Linked DNA regions of Homo sapiens: regions 2, 3 and 4 are each linked to region 1. The links are contacts of gene promoters, found by promoter capture Hi-C in blood cells and fetal thymus (Javierre and others, 2016). All regions are on one chromosome and are shown on one strand. Each heading gives the region's core, a stretch centred on a gene start or on the middle of the fragment in contact. The rest is flanking DNA. Distances are from core to core; before and after follow the strand shown. Region 1 holds the start of RCAN1 (regulator of calcineurin 1). Region 2 overlaps ATP5PO (ATP synthase peripheral stalk subunit OSCP). Region 3 has its middle 4.5 kb from the start of ATP5PO. Region 4 overlaps LINC00649 (long intergenic non-protein coding RNA 649).

Region 1 (2,711 bases), core at 140-2,639:
CGGCCATTGTAATTCCTTTCAGAAAGTAAGTGAACATATAAATTATAAATAAATGACACTTACATACACCATTCTGTTTCACAGTGGTGTTGTATTGGCAGCAGCCTTCAACTATAGTTCATTGACAGCATTTGTGGACCCACAGCCAAGCGCTGAAAGCACTGCTTTTTTTGACAGCTGCTCTCCTAATGGGGCATCTCTCAAAGACCGGTTTCATTCTGTGACGCCCACGTTGTCCACATTTTATTCTGCACAATAACTGCAGATTTGAAATAAATTCTTCCTCCCCACCACCATTATTGATTACTCATACCTGCCCCTCACCCTCCAAAGTGTCTAAATTGTGTGGATTTTGCGGGGGTGGGGGGAGGCGGGGGAAGGAGTCGACTCCCCATGTACTGGGTGTCCCCGATGGCGGCAAGCCACACCTTCACACAAGGGGGCAAGGTTCTTGACTAAATATCCTAAAGGTCTGAAAGATGGTCCCCTTCCCCCCAACACAATTCCACCAAAACTGGCCAGCCGCTGGCTAATGAGCAACCACGGATCCTCACCCAAACATTGGCTTTTCTTCCAATAGTGCAGATTGGGAATGCAGGGACGTCGTCCTATTTATGAACACTGAGTCACGTCGCCGCTCAATGTCTGTTTCCTCCTCCCTAGGAATGAGGTGACCCCCTCCTCCAGCGAGTAAATGCGGGGCGATGGCGAGAGCGCAGGGGGCGGCGGCGCTGCCCCACCTTGGGGAGCGAATTCACCCCCCTAGTCGCACCAGCCTGGGCGCACACGGGGGCCGGGGCGAGCCTGTGGGACTCTGCAGTGAGCTCCGCGCGCCCCGGGGGTGCTAGGGGACCGGGACCCTCGGGGCGCCGTCCCCACGCCCCAGCCCTGACGGGTCCGCGGCCGAGCAGCCCGGGGGACGTCGCTGCCTCCCCGCCCCGCGCGCGGCCGGGACTGGGCGCTGCGACCCGCGCCGCCTCCTCGGGCAACAAGTGTCCGCCCTCCGCCCCGACGGCCCGCCCGGCGCGGTCCTCACCCGGCACAGGCCGTCCACGAACACGCGCGGGTCCAGGTGACAGGCGATGGTGGCGCTGGGCAGGTCCTGCAGGTCCACCTCCTCCATCTCGCAGTCAATGAAGCTCCAGTCGCCGCCGCCCTCGTCCGCCTCGGCCGCCCCCGAGAGGGGCGCGAAGGGCCGCAGCGTCACCCCGGGCCGCGCTCGCGCCTCGGCCGCCTCCGCCGCCTCCGCCGCGGCCCCGAGCTGGGGACCGGCCACGCCGTCCTCCATCCCCGCGCCCGCGCGACCCTGTGCGCCCCAGCGGGCTGCTCCGGGCTTGCGCGCCGGAGCCTCACGCGCTCCGGTCCGCGCCCGGCCGGCGGCTCCGCCGTTAACCCCCTCGGAATCGCGCGGCGGCAGGCGGCGGGCTGTCAGCAGTCTCCCAGCGACACGGCCTCCCAGCGCCAGCCCCGCCCGTCACCGTTCCGCGCGGGAGGGGCAGAAGCCCGGCGCGGCGACCGCCCCCCCAGCCCCTAGGGCCGGCCACCGGCAGATCCAACGGTGGCCCCTTTAAGGCCGGCGCCGGTTGGGTTATTGTACCCCGCCCTTCCAGGAGACGGGGCCAATAAAGGAACGGAATTCTCTTCACGTGACCTTCCTTCTGCCGCCCGAAGCCCGAAGCCTCAGGGCGGCCATGTTGGTTAGGGGCAAAGTCCTCGTCCCCAGTTCCGCTTTTCTGACAGCTGGTGCCAGCTGAAGGACGCCGGGCAGAGTCCTCGGCTCTTGGGCCCTTGGGGTGATAACTGGGGAGGCAACGTTTTTGTGGTTCCCATGCGGGGACGTTTTGAAGCACAGGGGCCCACTTTTGGGAATTTAAGCGAGACATAGTCTCCCTGTGGCTCTGTGGCCCCTGGCAAGTGGTTAGATGCTTACCGTATATTATCAGATATAGTCGCAATAAAGACTGAACTAGACCATGATAACAATGCCTTACTTTTCTATTTCAGCGTATTAGTCACTATACCATTGTGAAAATTTATGTAATTAGAAGTAATTTTTCTGAATTACCATTATATGCTATGTACAATAGGACATAACGAAAGAATTAAGAGATCACCCCTTTCCTTTGGGGAATAGCGGAAAAATAAGAGGACCTCAAGTGAGCAGACATGTCTCTTCCTGAAAAATAGAATTCTTTTTTGGACAGTATGATACAGTGAGAACTTGGGTCTGAATTTCAGCTTTGCTTTTTAACTACTTGTACAAATAAGCTGAATCTTAGTTTCCTCATCTGAAAAAAATGAAGACATATTACTAAGAATTCAGTCAGTGCTTAATAAATGGTAGCTGTTTATGCACTGGGTTCTTTGGAGGTTGTGAAATTACAGTTATATTTTTTCTTAGAGTAGGCTTACTCTCTAGTTAGGAAGTGTTAGTAATTATAACAAAAAGTATATCCAACAGCTGAGATTTATTCAGAACTTGCCATGTGCACGGTTCTATGATTACTATTATCATAGTCTTAGGACAGTTTGTGTCCTCAGGGAGCTAAACCCAAGAGGAATAATAATACCCATCTAGAGATAACTCATAAAATAGAATATGATATGAGGATGTGAAGAAATTGGAACCGTCATACTGTGAAAGGGAAATCTTGGGCCCCCAAAATCACTAAGGAAAACTAAAGCTGGAAGTTGCTTAGAGCCAACCAGCC
Region 2 (2,711 bases), core at 64-2,563, 710 kb before region 1:
CGTGAGACTGTCTCAAAAAACAAAACAAATCATTGTACATAGATCTCTAGGTTCTCTCTGGTGACCTCGTAAGGCGACATATGAAGGGCCTCATCATTCCCCAAGATTGTATGTGCTTGATCAACAGGAAGCTTGCTGAGTTTGACTCTGAAGGATCTGGGCAGCATCAGCAGCATGAGGCTCCCGCAAAGACGGTTTGTCCATTGGCAGTCACATGTCTGTAGGAGCTGTGATTGTGTGTATGACGCCACCTTCTGCAGAGCAGGCCTCACTGCAGGCAGGAGGCAGGCAGTGAGTCTGGGGGAACCTGGAATGTGGTCATGGTTAGGTTGCAGACTCAGCTGCGGAGACAGAACTCAATATCCCGTGGCTTTGAAGAGAGGTCTATTTCTTCATCGTGTTTAACAGCCCAGGGGCAGCAGTAAGGCTTGGCAGGGTGGCTCTGCCCTTGGCATCGCTTGCCATCTTGTCTGCATCTAGCTAGAGGGATGGACTAAGGATTGCTCAAGAGGGCAGTCCAGGAAGGCACACCTCGCTTCCTCTCCTTTCCCATTTGCCAGAACTCAGCACCAAGGTCAGGTGCTGCCAGAGGCTCAAGAATGTGGTCTCTAGCTGAGTAGCCCTAGGCCCACCTAAAAGGTGGCTGAATGGTCTTCGGGCCAGCCAGCAGCCTCAGCACTCCTGGTTCCTGGAAAGGTTGAGGGGCCTCAGCACTCCTGGTTCCTGGAAAGGTTGAGGGGCCTCAGCACTCCTGGTTCCTGGAAAGGCTGAGGGGCCACGTGGTGTCTCCGTTGGTTGTCACATTAGGTGATCATGTATTAAAAGCTTTGCCAGGAGGAAGCTGGAGTTGAAGCCAAGCATGAGTGTCAGGAGTGTTGTGCCACATGGAGGGCACGCCAGTCCCAGCACTAGCACATAGGGAGCAGCGCTGGGCCATGTCATTGCTCTGTAGGACTTCTTTGCTGCAATGGTCCTGCCTCTGCCCAACCAGGGGTGGTTCTGGGAAGGGAACTGGTTTGTTGGCCAAAAGTTCTTGGAGGTTGACTAAGGAACAGGCACCTGAGCGGGCTGTTGCGTGGGGAACTCTGTAACTATTTTCTCTAGAAGACCAAAAGGTAAAATGTAGTGGAAGAGCTGACCTGGGAACTGGTTTTGGTTAAAAGGTGAATTGGGAGCATCTTAGGGACAAAGCGGGAAGGGGCAGGGGACCTACCTAAGGTAACTTTTGCCCGTTTGCTCCAGCAACGTGTCGGCGCATGGTGTTAGTTATACAGTGGTAAAAACATGGGCTGTAGGGCCTGACACCAGCTGTCCAGACAGGTGACTCTGAGCACATCTCTAGGGCCCCTCAATCTCTTTCCTCATTTGTAAAGTGGGGTGATGTCTCTCCCACCCGTGTGACAAGGCTGTCATGCAGCTTCAGATGTACATGAAATGGCCTTGAAAGCTACAGAGCAGCCTACAACTAGGTGTGTTCATGTTAGGATCAAGGGCAAGAGGCCTCCCTGGAGGGCTATGGATCAAACACAGATCCGATGATCTAGTAGGGACCAGGAACTCTGAACAAACCCTTAAAGACACGGGATTTTGGCAGGCAGGACCAGATAGACTTTGCTGAGTGACCATGTGTTAGGTGCTGTGTCTAACCAATTAATTCCTAAACATAATCTACTCAAACCAAATTCTCTAGGCCAAAAGGGCTTTTTGGCCTTTATACTCAGGGGATACCAAAAAAGGACATAAAAATAAAGCCTTCTACATTCCAGTTTAAAAGACAGTGAACATAATATGATCTGTTCTGGAAGCTTTTTATTGTTGCTCCAAGTTTAAGAATTTTCACTGATGGCAGAAAACCAACACTTTTAGACAATCTCCCGCATAGCCCTGCCCAGCTTCTGAATCTTGGTCTTGACAGACATGTCAACATATTTCTCGCCAATGCGCACAATCATTCCACCCAAGATTGACGGATCAGTCTACAAAAGAAGTAAGACTGGAAATGTGAAAACGCGCTAATCAAATGGGACACACAAAAAAGTGTTTTGAAAGGCTAAATGTGTTGCACAAATGTAAGAGGTTATAATTACACCTAGAAAAAGGCAAAAGTAAAACTGCACAGTCAGATAATCATTTAAATTTAAAATAAATACAAAATTTTAACTACAGAAAAATTAGTATAGAGTTAGATCTAATATTTCACTAGTACTTTCTGTAGCCATTTTAAGCTTAAAATAACCCGAGAAAACGTACCATAAATAATTTAAAACCTACCTTAGCCTCCAATTTCAATACTTGGCCTTGACTTAGGAAGCTCTTGAGGACAGTTTTTAATTCAGAGAGTGTGGCTTCTTCTAAAGGCTGAAAGGCAAAACCATCCTTTCAATTTAGATAAAGCAAAACAGAAACTTCCAGAGTTAAAATACCCCAGGCCCACATCACCAAGACAGGCCTTGTGAGCTCCTCCCTTTGCTACCTGGGCCCATCATGGAGCTGCTCTGCAGCATTCACTCCTTGTTCACGCTGGAGGTTCAGGGAGCACAGGAAGGCCCTGCCTCACAGCATCACCCGGGCAGCTCCCACTCAGCCGTTCAAGGACGGCCTGTAAATGCCACTCCCTCCCTGCCTCTGCTCTGTGTGCTAGCAGTACAACTTGGAACTAACAAGGAAAGGCCTTCAAGTTTCTAATGCCTGAAGATGCAGCCCCATCAATG
Region 3 (2,711 bases), core at 82-2,581, 690 kb before region 1:
GATGGGGTTTCGCCATATTGGCCAGGCTGGTCTTGAACTCCTGACCTCAGGTGATCTGCCCACCTTGGCCTCCCAAAGTGCTGGGATTACAGGCATGAGCTACCATGCCCGGCCTAAAAATGGTAGTTTGGACCTACTCTGTTTCTGACTTGGCTGGTTCACCTCTCCTTAGGCAACCTTGTGGTCCCCTGCTCCTGGGAGGTCACCATATTGATGCTTAATTTAGTGTGGACACCTGACCGGCATGGTGCACTACAGCTGAGAGCTCCTGGACTAAAGCAATCCTTCTACCTCAGCCTCCCAAGTAGTTGGGACTACAGGTGCACACCACCATGCCCAGTCATTTTTTTTTTTCATATTTAGGAAAATTTCCGAATAGATTTCCAGAATTTACACAACTTGGTGAGAGAATATGAGTACTCTAAGAGCCTCTGATGCATGAGGCCAAGCTGCTTTTCAAAATTTTAACCAATTTATACTTTCCGTAGCAGCACATGAAAACCCTTGTTTCACTCTACTCTGCAAACTTTCAGAGACTATTTTCAAATAAGCCTAATGAAAAGTATTCAACACATTATTTAACACAATTTATTGAGCAGCTATTACATGTAGCCAGCTGTTCTATTCACTGAGGCTACAACAGGATACAAGACACAGTGCCTACCTTTATAAACTTTATATTCTATGAGAAATTAAACTGCAAAACCTGTGTTTTCTGAAGTGTGGGTGTTAACAGATGTAATACAAATAAAAAGTTCTAGGGTCAACTATACTTGGGAAACTCTAGACTCTGAATATAATTCAGATGGTTTCTGCTTTTTGTTTTTTTTTTTGCCATTTTATTTTATTTATTTGCTTATTTTTTGAGATAGGGCCTCACTCTGTTGCCCAGGCTAAAGTGCAGTGGCACAGTCATGGCTGAGTACAGCCTCAGCCTCCCAGGCTCAAGCAATCCTCCCACCTCAGCCTCCTGAGTAGCTGGGACTACATGTGCACACAGCCACACCCAGCTAATTTTGTATTTTGTAGACACAGGTTTTTGCCATGTTGCCCAAGCTGGTCTCGAACTCCTGAGCTCAAGCGATCCTCCTGCCTTGGCCTCCCAAAGTGCTGGGATTATAGGTGTGAGCCACCTTGCTTGGCACCACCAACCCCCACTTTTTTTTTTTTTGCCATTTTAAACAATTCTGAATCTTCTAAGCATCTTTTTTTATATCTAGAAAAATTTTGAAATAGATTTCCAAAACTGACACAACTTGGTGAGAGAAAATTGAAAAGCTGCATGGAAAATTAATTATAAGGAGAAAAAAGGAAAAAAAATTAATTATAAGTAAACTGTAAGGTTGCACAGCAGCAGAGAAATACCCTCTGTTTATTTTGTATTTACCCAAGGATGATCTCAAACTCCTGGCTTCCAGATCCACCCACCTCGGCCTCTCAAAGTGCTGAGATTACAGGTGTGAGCCGCCGCGCTTGGTGCCCTGCCCCCAACTTTTTGACATTTTAAACAATTCTGAATCTTCTAAACATATTAAGACACACTTTCTTTCATATCTAGAATAATTTCCAGCCACTTGCACATCTCCAAAATAGTGGTTTATGGTCATTTCAATTTTAGGATTTGTTAACTGGTTGCACATATATGGTTTCATTTTTATTTTGAGTTTTAGGATGACTCGAGATGTAGATGGGCTTGGTATTCCCCCATTTTATAGATGGTGAAAACGTTTTGGATCCTGCTTACGCAGCTTGTCTAGGAAATGGCAATTTGCATCTCAAACCCAGGCACCTGCACCAAGTCCCATCTCTTTCCATCTCTATGGTTGAAAGAATAAGTGAATCATTCAGGATGTGTTTCTGGAATGGGATTTTGAAGCTAGCCTGTATTTTAGTGGTGTGGGCAAAGGGAGAAACACAGAAGCCCTGAAGCCTGATAACACTGCATCCACACCTCCCTCCTGCCTGCTCTTGGATTTCTGGGTGCCTGTAGGCAAATCACTGTGATGTCAGGCCAGGGCGCCATGTGCAAACTCCCATGTGGAGGGAACTGGCAGAAACTTCCCAGCTGTGACACTGCCACACCCTCTGCTATGCAAGAACAGAGCATTTGGAAAGGAACAAAAAGTTGTATCCTATAAGGGAAGAGGCCGGGCGCTGTGGCTCACACCTGCAATCTAAGTACTTTGGGAGGCTGAGGTGGGCAGATGGGCTTGAACTCAGGAGTTCAAGACCAGCCTCGGCAACATGGTGAAACAATGTATCTACAAAAAAAAAAAAAAAAAAAATTAGCTGGGCGTATGGTCCCAGCTACTTGGGAGGCTGAGGTGGGAGAATCACTTGAACCCTGAGGGGCAGAGGTTGCAGTAAGCCAAGATCGCACCACTGTGCTCCAGCCTGGGTGACAGAGTGAGACCCTGTCTCAAAAAAAAAAAAAAAAAAACAAAAAAAGAAAAAGAAGTGAAGAGACTTAGCACTCTGCAGTTATCGCGCTTTCTCTCTGCACAAACTCAAATCATTTAAAAATGAGTTATTTTAATATTTTAGTAGTTGAGGCCAATGGAGTCAAAGGTACTTGCCCAAGGCCACAGGGCAAAACTCGGACATCTAATCTCGATGTTTTTGTTTACACTGACCTTCAATTCAAAATAAATATTGCTCGCTGTTTTATTTTCTCTACAAAGAAACCATATGCAGTGGTAGAAATGAGCAGT
Region 4 (2,711 bases), core at 116-2,615, 680 kb before region 1:
AGTTAAGAGAGGTTCCACTGCAGTGTGTGGACTGGGGTGTTCACTGAACCAGACAAAGCTGGGGGTTTTGGGATGCCAGAGGCCTGTAGTGGGAACAGCTAGGGGAGGACTGCAGCCAATCTGGATAGTGGCAACAGGACAGGGAAATTGACTCTAGTTTTTGCTCAGTAGCAAAACTGTTTTGAAAGAGAATCTCTCCTCTACCTCACCCCCAGGCATGTTTTTTAAGTCTTTAAAAAATACTGTTAAAGCAAACTATATATGGATATGGCCTGAAAAGGACTCCCTACTTCTTCTTTTTTTTTTTTTTTTGAGATGAAGTCTTGCTTTGTAGCCCAGGCTGGAGTGCAGTGGCACGATCTTGGCTCACTGCAGCCTTCACCTCCTGGGTTCAAGAGATTCTCCTGCCTCAGCCTCCTGAGTAGCTGGGATTACAGGTGTCCACTACCATGCTAAGCTAATTTTTCGAATTTTTATATTTTTAGTAGAGACAGGGTTTCACCATGTTGGCCAGGCTGGTCACAAACTCCTGACTTCAAGTGAACTGCCCACCTTAGCCTCCCAAAGTGCTGGGATTACAGGCATGAGCCACCGTGCCCGGCCCCGGACTTCCTACTTCCATATTTGAGTCCTTGTGGACGAACTGCAACCTAACTTTGAAACAGATTGAAACCCTAATTTAGGATTATGACAAGATTGAAATCCTAATTGAGGAGTATGCAGCTGTAACAATTGCCGAGTCTTGGCCAATCCCAGCAGCCTTACTTCAACCGCTCATACACTGCTGAGTGTTCACACTCTGTTCAAATAAGGCAAACGCCGAGCTGTAACCGATCCAGCTGTTTCAGAATCTCACCTCCGATTTCTGTACGTCACTTCCTTTTTTTTTTTTTTTTTTTTTTATAAATTTGTTCAGACCCGAGTCATCCCTGGAGTCTCACACTTGATCTTAGCCAAAAGGCCGAGAAGCGATCATCCCTGGAGTCTCTCTGAATCTGCCGTGATCCTGGGGGCTGCCCGATTCGTGCATTGTTCATTGCTCAATTAAACTCCTTTAAATTTAATTTGGCTGAAGTTTTTCTTTTAATGATACTATGATGTGTCATTATTATTTCACTTTTCAAATTATTCAAAATTATTTTCAATTTTATGGTATGGTACATACCGTAAAATTTCTGTACTCTTTTAAAGCTTACATTTCAGTGGTTTTCAGTATATTCACAAGGTTGTGCAACCATCACCACTATCTGGTTCTAGAACATTTTCTTCACCCCCAAAGAAGCTTCATACCCATTAGCGGTCACTTTCCATTCCTTCTTCCCCACAGCCCCTGGCAAATTCTGACGGTTTTAATGGTTAAATCTTTTCAATTACATCACAAGACACCATGGAACTCATTACTCTTTCTGGCACATAGTAGGTACTTAGTAAATTTTTTTTTTTTGTGATAAAGCTTTCAATTAAGACTTTCTACTCTTTTTGCTGGCATATGTGATAATTTTAAAATTATAGTCCAGGTGCGGTGGCTCATGCCTGTAATCCCAGCACTTTGGGAGGCCAAGGTGGGTTGATCACCTGAGGTTAGGAGTTCGAGACCAGCCTGGCCAACATGGCGAAACCCCGTCTCTACTAAAAATACAAAAATTAGCCAGGCGTGGTGGCTTGCACCTATAATCCCATCTACTCGGGAGGCTGAGGCAGGAGAATCACTTGAACCCGGGGGGAAGAGTTTGCAATGAGCTGAGATCACACCACTGCACTCTGGCTTGGGTGACAGAGCGAGACTCCATCTCAAAAAAAAAAAAATTGTGTTAAACATCTAGAAGAAGACGACATACAGCTGAGTTGGATTTTTTCCCCCTCCTCTCCCATTTAGAAAAGTCTGAACTCAGAGGTCTCATGTCAACTGGATAATTGTTTTATTGGCCTTATTCTTAACTTAGTGTGATTTAGGAAAAGACAAGGACATCTAGAGTCATGTTGTAATCACAGTTCTGTGATATTTCATGTTTTTCTAACTCATAAAAATACAGTGAGGAAATCAACAGCTTGGACTGTGGGAAAAGAAGTAAAGCTGAAACTCTGATACGCACAGGCCTGAGTATGTTGTTTACAGAATGAAAAGCGAGTTCCACATAAGCTGAGACTTGGCTTCAGTCATGCCTGGGAATCTACAAACTCAATGCCCTCTCACTGGCAGAACATAAAAGCTAAAGATTACCCCTAATCCCGTGGCATTTTAAAATCCATGGAATGGGCTTTGGTGCTCAGCAATTTTCACTTAAAGTCACACACTCTTTTGGAGGTACAAATGTTTCAGTTCCCCCAGTAGTATCTCTGGTAAGACTTACCAGAATGAATATTGATGCAGATGAAGACACGATTGTTCTGTCCAGAAGTGATCACACTCCCCTTCACCCCCAAGTTCCACTTTTTAAACAATTCAAATAATGGAAGCTCATGTGACAGCTTTCTGCTGGTAAACCAGAGAATAAGATTCACTGCACTGGAAAAAAAGTGGAAACCACTCACATATTTATCAATGGATGCATGAGTAAACAATATCTGGCATATCCATACAATGGAATATTATTCAGCCATAAAAAGGAATGAAGTACTGACACATGCTACCACCCTGAAAAGATGATGCTGGCCGGGCGCAGTGGCTCACGCCTGTAAGCCCAGCACTTTGGGAGGCCAAGGTGGGTGGA

Evidence for each region. The method cuts DNA at HindIII sites, captures the fragments that hold promoters and counts their contacts. A CHiCAGO score of 5 or more calls a contact.
Region 2: a contact is called between a fragment that was not itself captured here and the fragment with the promoter of RCAN1 in region 1, in 2 of 17 cell types (total B cells and naive B cells). The highest score is 5.5, in total B cells.
Region 3: a fragment that was not itself captured here is called in contact with the fragment with the promoter of RCAN1 in region 1 in 12 of 17 cell types (total B cells, naive B cells, naive CD8 T cells and 9 more); the score reaches 16.0 in total B cells.
Region 4: a fragment that was not itself captured here is called in contact with the fragment with the promoter of RCAN1 in region 1 in 2 of 17 cell types (total B cells and naive B cells); the score reaches 7.5 in total B cells.

Annotation. Positions count from the first base shown.
Region 1 is chr21:34,613,724-34,616,434 of GRCh38, forward strand. It overlaps RCAN1 (regulator of calcineurin 1), which reads right to left and starts at 1,390. Exons shown (of 4, transcript NM_004414.7): 1 at 1,037-1,390. The coding sequence starts at 1,288. RefSeq lists silencers at 905-1,004, 1,195-1,624. The HindIII fragment of the contact is 8,899 bases long and covers 1-2,711 here.
Region 2 is chr21:33,901,664-33,904,374 of GRCh38, forward strand. ATP5PO (ATP synthase peripheral stalk subunit OSCP) reads right to left here. Exons shown (of 7, transcript NM_001697.3): 6 at 2,272-2,358; 7 at 1,790-1,976. The coding sequence ends at 1,863. Among named protein-coding and RNA genes, the nearest start is that of ATP5PO, 13 kb to the right of the region's middle. RefSeq lists an enhancer at 118-713. The HindIII fragment of the contact is 980 bases long and covers 824-1,803 here.
Region 3 is chr21:33,918,998-33,921,708 of GRCh38, forward strand. It overlaps the pseudogene RN7SL740P. Among named protein-coding and RNA genes, the nearest start is that of ATP5PO, 4.5 kb to the left of the region's middle. The HindIII fragment of the contact is 5,747 bases long and covers 1-2,711 here.
Region 4 is chr21:33,937,309-33,940,019 of GRCh38, forward strand. All of the region lies in intron 1 of LINC00649 (long intergenic non-protein coding RNA 649), which reads left to right. Among named protein-coding and RNA genes, the nearest start is that of LINC00649, 7.5 kb to the left of the region's middle. The HindIII fragment of the contact is 171 bases long and covers 1,281-1,451 here.